3 separate regions of the Homo sapiens genome follow, and all the other regions are linked to region 3. The links are contacts of gene promoters, found by promoter capture Hi-C in human tissues and cell types (Jung and others, 2019). All regions are on one chromosome and are shown on one strand. The core of a region is centred on a gene start or on the middle of the fragment in contact, and the rest is flanking DNA. Distances in the headings are between cores, read along the strand shown.

Region 1 (2,796 bases), core at 268-2,767, 110 kb after region 3:
TTCTGTGGATCAGAAGCAAGTCACAGATCCCCCCACATCAAGGAGAGAGGATTTCAGCAAGATATGAACACACTAGGAGGTGGGGACCCTGGTGCCACCTTAGTGTCTGTCCAGCAGAGGGACCAATTCCCAAATGAATGCATGCACAGCCGCACACACTAATCCCAAACAACAGCAACACAGTCATGTGGTCAACAGTGTTTTTATTTTATTATTTTATTTTATTTTATTTATTAAGTGCTAGGCACTGGAAACATAGCAGTGAAGAAAAAGAAAAATCCCCGTCCTCATGAAGCTTAGATGACGCTGGCGCACACTAAATCCACCAACAGCGGTCACAGCTGTAGCGTCTACATGGTTGCGATGCTTAATTTTATGTGTCCATGTGGCTGGGCCCAGACGTGAAGTCAAACCTCATTCTGGATGTCCCTGTGAGGATGTTTTTGGATGAGATGAACATTTAAACCCGTGCACTTTGAGTAAAGCAGATGGCCCTTGCTAGTAGGTGGGCCTCCCCGGGTCAGCTGAAGACCTGAATGGAACAGAGACTGACCTCCCTGAGCAAGCAGGGGCTGCAGACACGGTCTTCCTGGGGTCTCCAGCCTGCTGGCCCACCCTGCAGATTTCAAATTTACCAGCCTCCATAGTCACCTGAGCCAATTCCTTAAAAGTAATCTCTCTATATATACATATACACATATCCTGTTGGTTCTGGTTTTTTGTTTGTGTTTCCTTCTAGAGAACCTGCTATTACAGTGGTGTATATGCATTCCATTCCATGATGGGTAATATAGTAAGAGACAGCTTTTATTAGTTTTCCTTCCAAATATTCAATGTGTTAATATGCTCAAAACCCTTAATTCAATTCTCTGAATCCTTCTAATTGGGGATGGGGTAATGTTTGCAGAAGAAAGTCCACCTAGAGGATCGTTTTGTGGAGGGCTTTGTGTCTGAGAAGGGGCTTCCTTGCCGTAGCATCTGCCCTCCTGCTGCTCACATCTGAAGCTTTCTTTTCTGTCAGCTGCTCCTAGGTATCTGATCTTTCCGGCCTCTGCGGTTTTTTTTTTTTTTTTTTTAATTTTTCCCTCTTTTTCCCAGCCTCAAACCTGTCATCTGCATCTTTCCTTCTTTAACCACTGAGCCAGGTGCTCTAAGGCTTTGGGCTCCTTGGTACTTTACGATTCACCCCCGCCCTGGGGCCGGACAGCCTTGGAGAATTTCCAGAAGGGAAAGTCTTCTGGTAACCAGATAATTCTTTCAGAAGTAGGTGTGTTTTTGCAACATTAGTCAATATCTCACGTCCTGCAAGGGACTTTCCATCGATTCCTTTTGAGAGGCCTGTAGGGTAGGTTACGGTTAAGAAGGCTTTTCAGAACAGTGTGAAGGAAGGAATGGCAAGTGCATTTCATGGCCTCGTAACCCTTCTGTGTCCTTGTTGGTGAAAAGAGAGGGTGGAGCTTTATTCCTGAGCGCCAGGTGCCTTTCCCTGTGGTCACAAACGTGTAAATGGATACATTTCTATTTGCTTAAGGAACAAATATTGCTGTGGGAAGTGACTAAATAGCTTCCCAGAAGCAGCGGTCATGGGGCCTTTGGACCAGCTGGGCATCTTCTAATCAAGGCAGGAGGGGGAATGATGCAAAAACAAGATGGGTCTATGCTGGAACATTTCCACCGTCAAATTCACCAAAAATGTGTGGCAGGCTCACTCCCCAAGCCACAAAGCTCTGATTCACAGACACTCCTGGTACACGAACAGCAGGGGCCCCATCATCTGCCATTCACTCTGATGTTGACTTTGAAACCAGTCTGTGTGGCCACTTCCAGCTTGAAAGGCCTTGATCAATTTACCCAACCTCCCTGCCGCCTCAGTTCTCTCATCTGCAGAATGGAAATGTTGCAGCAGCTCCTTCCAACAACCCCTTGGAAAGGCAGGGAGGAAGGCCAGTTGTCACCTGCGACAACTGTTCCCACTGTGATGTTCCCACTGTGATGTTTGCCTTGACAGGGTGGTATTGCCACATTTCAGGGTCTGGCTTCAATTTTGTAGGCCCAGGAAGTCAGTAGATAATATAGAATAATTGATCAAGCACCTAAGAATGGCTGCTAAAAGAACTCACAAGAATCTGAAGTGAGTATTAATTTACAGCAAGAACTGTAACCAACTGGACAGGACAGAAGCGGCCGGGGCTCCCCTGCTCCTTCTTTAAAGGCAAAGCTATACGCAGGGCCAAATGATCATTGCCGTGGGATTGGAGTTTGCTTGCTGGGTGTGAGTTGGGTGGAGGTGGGGCTGAGGCTGGACAACACTGATGGCAGTGGTCCCTCTACAAGAACCGAGGCTTCTGTGGCACTGTGAGGAGGCCCTTACAGGCTTGGCAGGTCCCATGAGAGTCCCTGCCAGTGGCCTGGCTGGCAGCTCCCCCTCTTGCTGCTTCCCACAACCACATGCCCCAAAGTCCACAGTCATTACTAAGGTGTAGCAAGGAAAATAAGACCATAGGCTTGGAAAAGATAAAAATAGCAACCAGTGACACCAGACCCAAAAGCCCTCAAGGATACCAATTAATCCCCTTAAAAGTAGTCTTCATCAGCCTCTTCTTCCTCTTCTTGTACAGCAAATGTTTCCTCAAGGATCAACACTAAAGAAAAATAATACATAATTCTTACTAAATGTTTTATTATTGTTCCCCTTATGTTGGAAATAGATTATACATATAAAAGAGTACATAAAATTTGCATATCTGTTTAAGGAAAAAGAATAAGGACAAACACCTGCATATGCACCCCCGGGTG
Region 2 (2,813 bases), core at 185-2,684, 95 kb before region 3:
TGGTCACAGAGATGCCTCAGCAGCTTAACAAAATGCTTGTGTTTTGTATAGCTAATTGCTACAAACCAGATTATGGTGGCTCAATGCACATAATTTATAAATAAGTCAATTATGTTACCTTGTCTTTTGGCTTTTGGTTTTTGGTTCTTATGTTGCTTAAAAGAGATTCGAAGGTTAATGAGTGCCTGCGCACTTCCATTCCATTTGGCTTAGAATAATTAATTGGTTATAAGTCTTTTGACTCTAAGTCCCTTAGCCGTAGGGGTCCCACTGAGGGACATGATAGACCTGGCACAGGTAGCACCCCCCCCCCCCCCCCCCCCCCCCGGCATCAATATGGGACAAAATAAAAGCTTGGCCATTGACACTGCCTCTGGCATACCTTTACAAAAAGCGGACTATAAACTAAAAAAAATCTGCATCCTCCCTAGTAGAATGGACACGCCTCTTGCCCAAAGGGGATCCAATTAAAAAAAAAAAAAAAACCTGAAAAACTAGTTCAGGCCATGATGGAAAGCTGGGGGTCAGACACGCCTCACTCCACTTTCCCCCATGCCTTGGAATTCAGGCACAAATGACCAGGCAAAATGCCTTTGCACCCTCGAAAAGAAAAACCCTCCTGCTGATTTTATGTGGGATGCTGTTAAAGCTGCTGTACCTTCTAGTACCTGGTTTTTACCACTTTTGGGCCCGTTAAGGGTGAGCTCATCGTTAATATTTGGCCCATGCATATTCAACTTGCTTGTAAAGTGCCTGTCTCTGGTTACAGCAGATCTAGGTAAAGGTGATCTTCAAGCTAGGGTTCCAGCTGCTTCCTGTCTTGGAATCAGACGCTCCTGCTGTCCCCTGGGGACCCTTAGATCAAGCAGCTGGAGATTCCCATGCCCTCGGTAGGCAGGGCCAGTGCTCTTAAATCAGCAGGAAGATGACACGGAAGACTGACCTCCTCCCTCATCTCCCTCAAGAATAAGGGATGGAATGGCTGAGCACGGTAGGTGGCTCATGCCTGTAATCCCAGCACTTTGGGAGGCCAAGGTAGGCAGATCGCTTGAGCTCAAGAGTTTGAGACCACCCTGCACAACATGGCAAAAACCCATCTCTACCAAAAATACAAAAATTAGCCGGGCGTGGTAGCACACACCTGTGGTCCCAGATACTCAGGAAGCTGAAGTCTGAGGATCGCTGGAGCCTGGGAAGGGGAGGCTGCAGTGAGCCATGATTATGCCACTGCATCCCAGCCTGGGTAACAGAGTGAGACCCTGTCTCAAAAAAAGAAAGAAAGAAAATAAATAAAAGAAGAAGGGATGGAAATCTCCAAGGGGGAAAATGAAATGGGAATAGCACTGGGTGGTCACAGGAGGATGGAAAAACCCAAACAACAGCTAGAATAAGAACGAGGCAAAGAAACCGCAGGTTAACAGAAAACCCAAAATAAGGAAGAGAAAATGGTCAAATCCTGGTCAGGGTGATATGTCCATGATCCTGGGAAAACTTGAATAAGGGTAAAAGTCTGTGGTAATGGGGGGAGGGAGTCCCTGAAATCACTCCTTTTCCAGAATACCTTATGATTATTCCACCCCCTAATTAAAAAAAAATCCATAAAATTAGAAACTCAAACTCTGATGTGACTCACTCTGCTGAGCACGCCCGCAATTCTCTTTTACGTGTGTGCTTTCGCTTTGCAGTAAAAGCTTCTTGCCTTTCGTTTCATTCTGACGTGTCCCTGAATTCTTTCTCATGCTGGTGTCAAGAACTTGGAAACTGGCTGGGGCTGGGGTCTCAGTGGCATCCAGAGACCCTCCGGAGACCTCCGACAGCTGTAGGTGATTGGGGGCGCCAATCACATAGGGGTCGGAGAGTGATGGAATGCACCTTAATTTTAATCTGAGTGTCATGGAAAACAGTTGGATGGTTCTATGCAGAGGAGTGACATGATCTGACTTATAGGAAAGATCATTCTATTGCTGTAGGAAAGCAGGGAGGTTAATTTATTAACAGAAGGTATTATGGGTTGAGTTGTGTCTCCTCAGAATATGTTAAATCCTAACCCCTAGTACCTGTGACTATAACCGTAACTGGAAGTGAGGTCTTTATAGATTATTGAATTAAGATGAGATGAGATCATTAGGGTGGGCCCTACTCCAATATGACTGGTGTCCTTAAAGGAGAGGAAAATCCCACGTGAGGACAAGGAGACCATCATGTGATGACAGAGGCAGAGGCTGGGGAGGGTGCCAAGGGCATTTTACAGTAAACCTGAAACACTCGTTCAGGCCGAGATGGAAAGGGGGGATGGATGCCTCATTATACCCTCCTCCCTTTGGAATTCAGGCACAGTTGACCAGCATTAACGTTAAAACAGAGACCTTAAGACTGACAAAGCAGAATTTTTGTAGCAATAAGATACCAATGTGACAGATTGCAAGCCCTGAAAGAAACTGGAGTATTTTACCCCAAATATATTCATTTGGCATATTTTGAAATAGCCTTGCAAAACTGTCTCTTTGGGGAAAAACATCTACATTCTGAGGAGACTCCCCTTCCTTTTCCAGGTCTTTTTCTTGATCCAGGAGATAATTTACTAAGAGTCCGGCACCTGAAGTTTGATAAGAAACATTTACAAAGTCCAGGTGAGGTGGGCCACACCTGTAATGCCAGCACTTTGGGAGTCTAAGGCAGAGGATCACTTGAGGTCAGGAGTTGGAGACCAGCCTGGCCAACACAGTGAAACCCTGTCTTTACTAAAAATACAAAAATTGGCCGGGTGTGGTGGTGCACGCCTGTAGTTCCAGCTACTTGGGAGGCTGAGTAGG
Region 3 (2,863 bases), core at 364-2,863:
CATTTGAGGTCAGGAGTTCGAGACCAGCCTGGCTGACATGGTGAAACTCCGTCTCTACTAAAAATACAAAAATTAGCCGGGCGTGGTGGTACATGCCTGTAATCCCAGCTACTCCGGAGGCTGAGGCAGGAGAATTGCTGCCAGGAGGCGGCAACTGGACCTGGGAGGCAGAGGTTGCAGTGAGCCGAGATTGCACCACTGCACTCCAGCCTGGGCGACAGAGCGACTCCGTCTCAAGAAAAAAAAAAAGTATACAGAGTAAATGTAACTTTTTACTTTTAGTCTAGGACTGAACAATACTAAGTTTTAAAAAATCTATAATATGTCATTTTTGTACATTATATTTTGGAAATGTACAAAATATTAGGAAAAGTGGTAATTTTGGCAAATGTAGGAGGCAGTACATCTTACAGTTAAAGAGGTCAAGAGAGCAACCACTTCGCAGTCAGAGAAACCAAGCCTCACCCCAGTTCCAATACCTCTTCAATGTGTCATCTTAGGAAAGTTACTCAATCACTATTGAGCCCCGTGACATCTCACATGTGAGGTACAGTGTTAAGCAGCATTTTATGGGCATTATTTACTAAAATTGTTATAAGATCCAAGTTATCATTCCCATCTCAAAGATGAAGAAACCAGGACTCAAAGCAATAAAGTGACCTGCTCAGTGCTGTGAAGCTAAGAAGTGGTGGGGCCCAGGAATGACTGATCAGCAGGACCCCGGGACCCCGCAAAGGCCTCTTGATGTCACTAAACCCAGCAAAAAACATCTAGTTCCAAAACGGGTCATTTTTCAGTGCTCCATTGTCTCCCTGAGTTTCCTCACCTGTAAAACGGGTGTAAGTGCTCAGAATCCCTATAAGAACCAAATGAGGTTGTAACATTTCCCACAATGCCTGGAATGTAGGAATTATTCTGCATCCCTAAGTTGCCACTTAAGAGATAAAAGAAATCAGCAAAAGGCTTTCAAAAATAAATGGTCCTTTGAAGTATGAAAATTCAAATCCAGGAAACTCACCAAGCATGGCCAAGGTGCGCATGATCATATACAGTTGGTCCACAGCTATACCTGGAAACAAAGTTAAAATCCATCGTGTGGAACATATTTGCAAGAAAGGACATTCGATTCTGAGTTATAATGATCATATAATTTTTAAAGTAATCACTTCTGGGGGATGAATAGCCGGGGTTTTCATACTTGCTCAATTCACACCCAAACCTGCAAAAGCACCGCGCACCCCCAGCTTCTAGAACGGCGCCCTCCATGCAGCTTCCTAAACGCCCTCCCCGAGCCCAGATCCCGTTCAGCCGTGGGAAGTCTCCGCCACGATCGGCCCCCGCCCGTGCCCCAGTCCCGCGCGGCCCACCAGGAGGCGGCTTCGGCGTGCGCCACGATTAGGGGTTCCTTCCTCCCGGTGAGGCTGTTGTACACCTGCACACCCGTCTCCCGGCCCGTGGGCTGCAGCCAGGCCCGCCCGCGCCCCCCGCTCGCCGCCCGGCCCGCAGGCCAGTGCCACCCAGCCCGCCCAAGGCCCAGCGCGGCCTGGAGCAGCGGGGGGCCCAGGCCTGGGCCGCGCGTAGTCCTCAACATGTCAGCGGCCAGCGCCTACGACTGGGCGGAGACGGGAGCCACGCCGGGTACGCTGCCGGTCGCTCAAGAGCAGCACGGCCCCGCCCCGCCCCGCCCACGCCCTTGGGGCCACGCCCACTCCCGGAAGCAGTCCTCAGGTAGCGCCTCCCTTTGGCCTGGCTCGAGTCGCCCGCGGCAAGGGTGGAGAACCAGGGCCCGAAGAGGTTGGGGCGGGGAAGGCCCGGGGTGGAGGGAGGAGGGCGGTGCCGCGCCGGGAGGCCGTGGGAAGAGGCGGTACCGTGCCGATCTCCTCTCCTTATTAGCCCAGGTCCTGCGAGGCGTCCGTGTGCGCGCGGTACCAGCCTGGAGCTGTGTCCGCCGCGCGGGAGGAGCGTTTACAGTGCAAGCTTCTGTTGCCGGGCCCTGGCCTGTTAGCGAAGCACGTGTGCATCCCAGCACAGCCCACGTCAGCACGCTAATACACAGTGTCCACCCCAGAACACACGTCAGCACCCCAATACAGTGTGCACCCCAATACAGTGTGCACCCCAAACACACATCTGCGCCCCAATACAGTGTGCACTGCAGCACACCGTTAGCATCCCAACACAGTGCACCCCGATACACAATGTGCAACCCAACACACAGTCTGCACCCCAAGAAGTGTGCACCCCAATACACAGTATGCACCCCAGCACACACATCAGCATCCCAATACAGTGTGCACCCCAATACAGTGTGCACCCCAGCACACACATCTGCACCCCAATAGTGTGCACTGCAGCACACCATCAGCATCCCAACACAGTGCACCCCGATACACAGTGTGCAACCCAGCATACAGTCTGCACCCCAATACACAGTATGCACCCTAGCACACACCACATCAGCATCCCAATACAGTGTGCACTCCAATACAGTGTGCACCCCAGCACACACCATGTCTGCACCCCAGTACAGTGTACACCCCAATACAGTGTGCACCCCTAATACACTGTGCACTCTAACACACACCATGTCTGCACCCCAGTACAGTGTGCACCCCAACACAGCACATGTGCATCCCAGCAAACACTGTCTGCATTCCAATGCAATGTGCACCTCAATAGAGTGTGCGCCCCCACACATCTACACCCCAATACAGTGTGCACCCCAATACACAGTGTGCAACCCAACACACACCATGTCTGCACTCCAATACACAGCATGCCTCCCCCACCATGATCCCGTATCTTGAGAACAAAAACATTCTGAAAGTTACTCACAATAGCTTGACAAACGTGCCTCTATTGG

The links. Contacts are between HindIII fragments. The study calls those that stand out against the background at their distance.
Region 1: a fragment that was not itself captured here is called in contact with the fragment with the promoter of CARS2 in region 3 in 10 of the 25 tissues and cell types used here (IMR-90 fibroblasts, bladder, dorsolateral prefrontal cortex and 7 more).
Region 2: a fragment that was not itself captured here is called in contact with the fragment with the promoter of CARS2 in region 3 in 7 of the 25 tissues and cell types used here (IMR-90 fibroblasts, aorta, dorsolateral prefrontal cortex and 4 more).

What each region holds. Positions count from the first base shown.
Region 1 is chr13:110,814,325-110,817,120 of GRCh38, forward strand. The region is part of intron 1 of LOC105370362 (a long non-coding RNA gene); the gene reads left to right. Among named protein-coding and RNA genes, the nearest start is that of LINC00567, 2.6 kb to the left of the region's middle. RefSeq lists an enhancer at 1,519-2,042. The HindIII fragment of the contact is 5,787 bases long and covers 1-2,796 here.
Region 2 is chr13:110,609,700-110,612,512 of GRCh38, forward strand. No RefSeq gene overlaps it. Among named protein-coding and RNA genes, the nearest start is that of NAXD, 4.4 kb to the right of the region's middle. RefSeq lists enhancers at 614-1,114, 1,115-1,615. The HindIII fragment of the contact is 4,503 bases long and covers 1-2,813 here.
Region 3 is chr13:110,704,503-110,707,365 of GRCh38, forward strand. CARS2 (cysteinyl-tRNA synthetase 2, mitochondrial) reads right to left here and starts at 1,614. Exons shown (of 15, transcript NM_024537.4): 1 at 1,368-1,614; 2 at 1,019-1,069. The coding sequence starts at 1,591. RefSeq lists a silencer at 1,422-1,981 and enhancers at 2,032-2,411, 2,422-2,541. The HindIII fragment of the contact is 14,015 bases long and covers 1-2,863 here.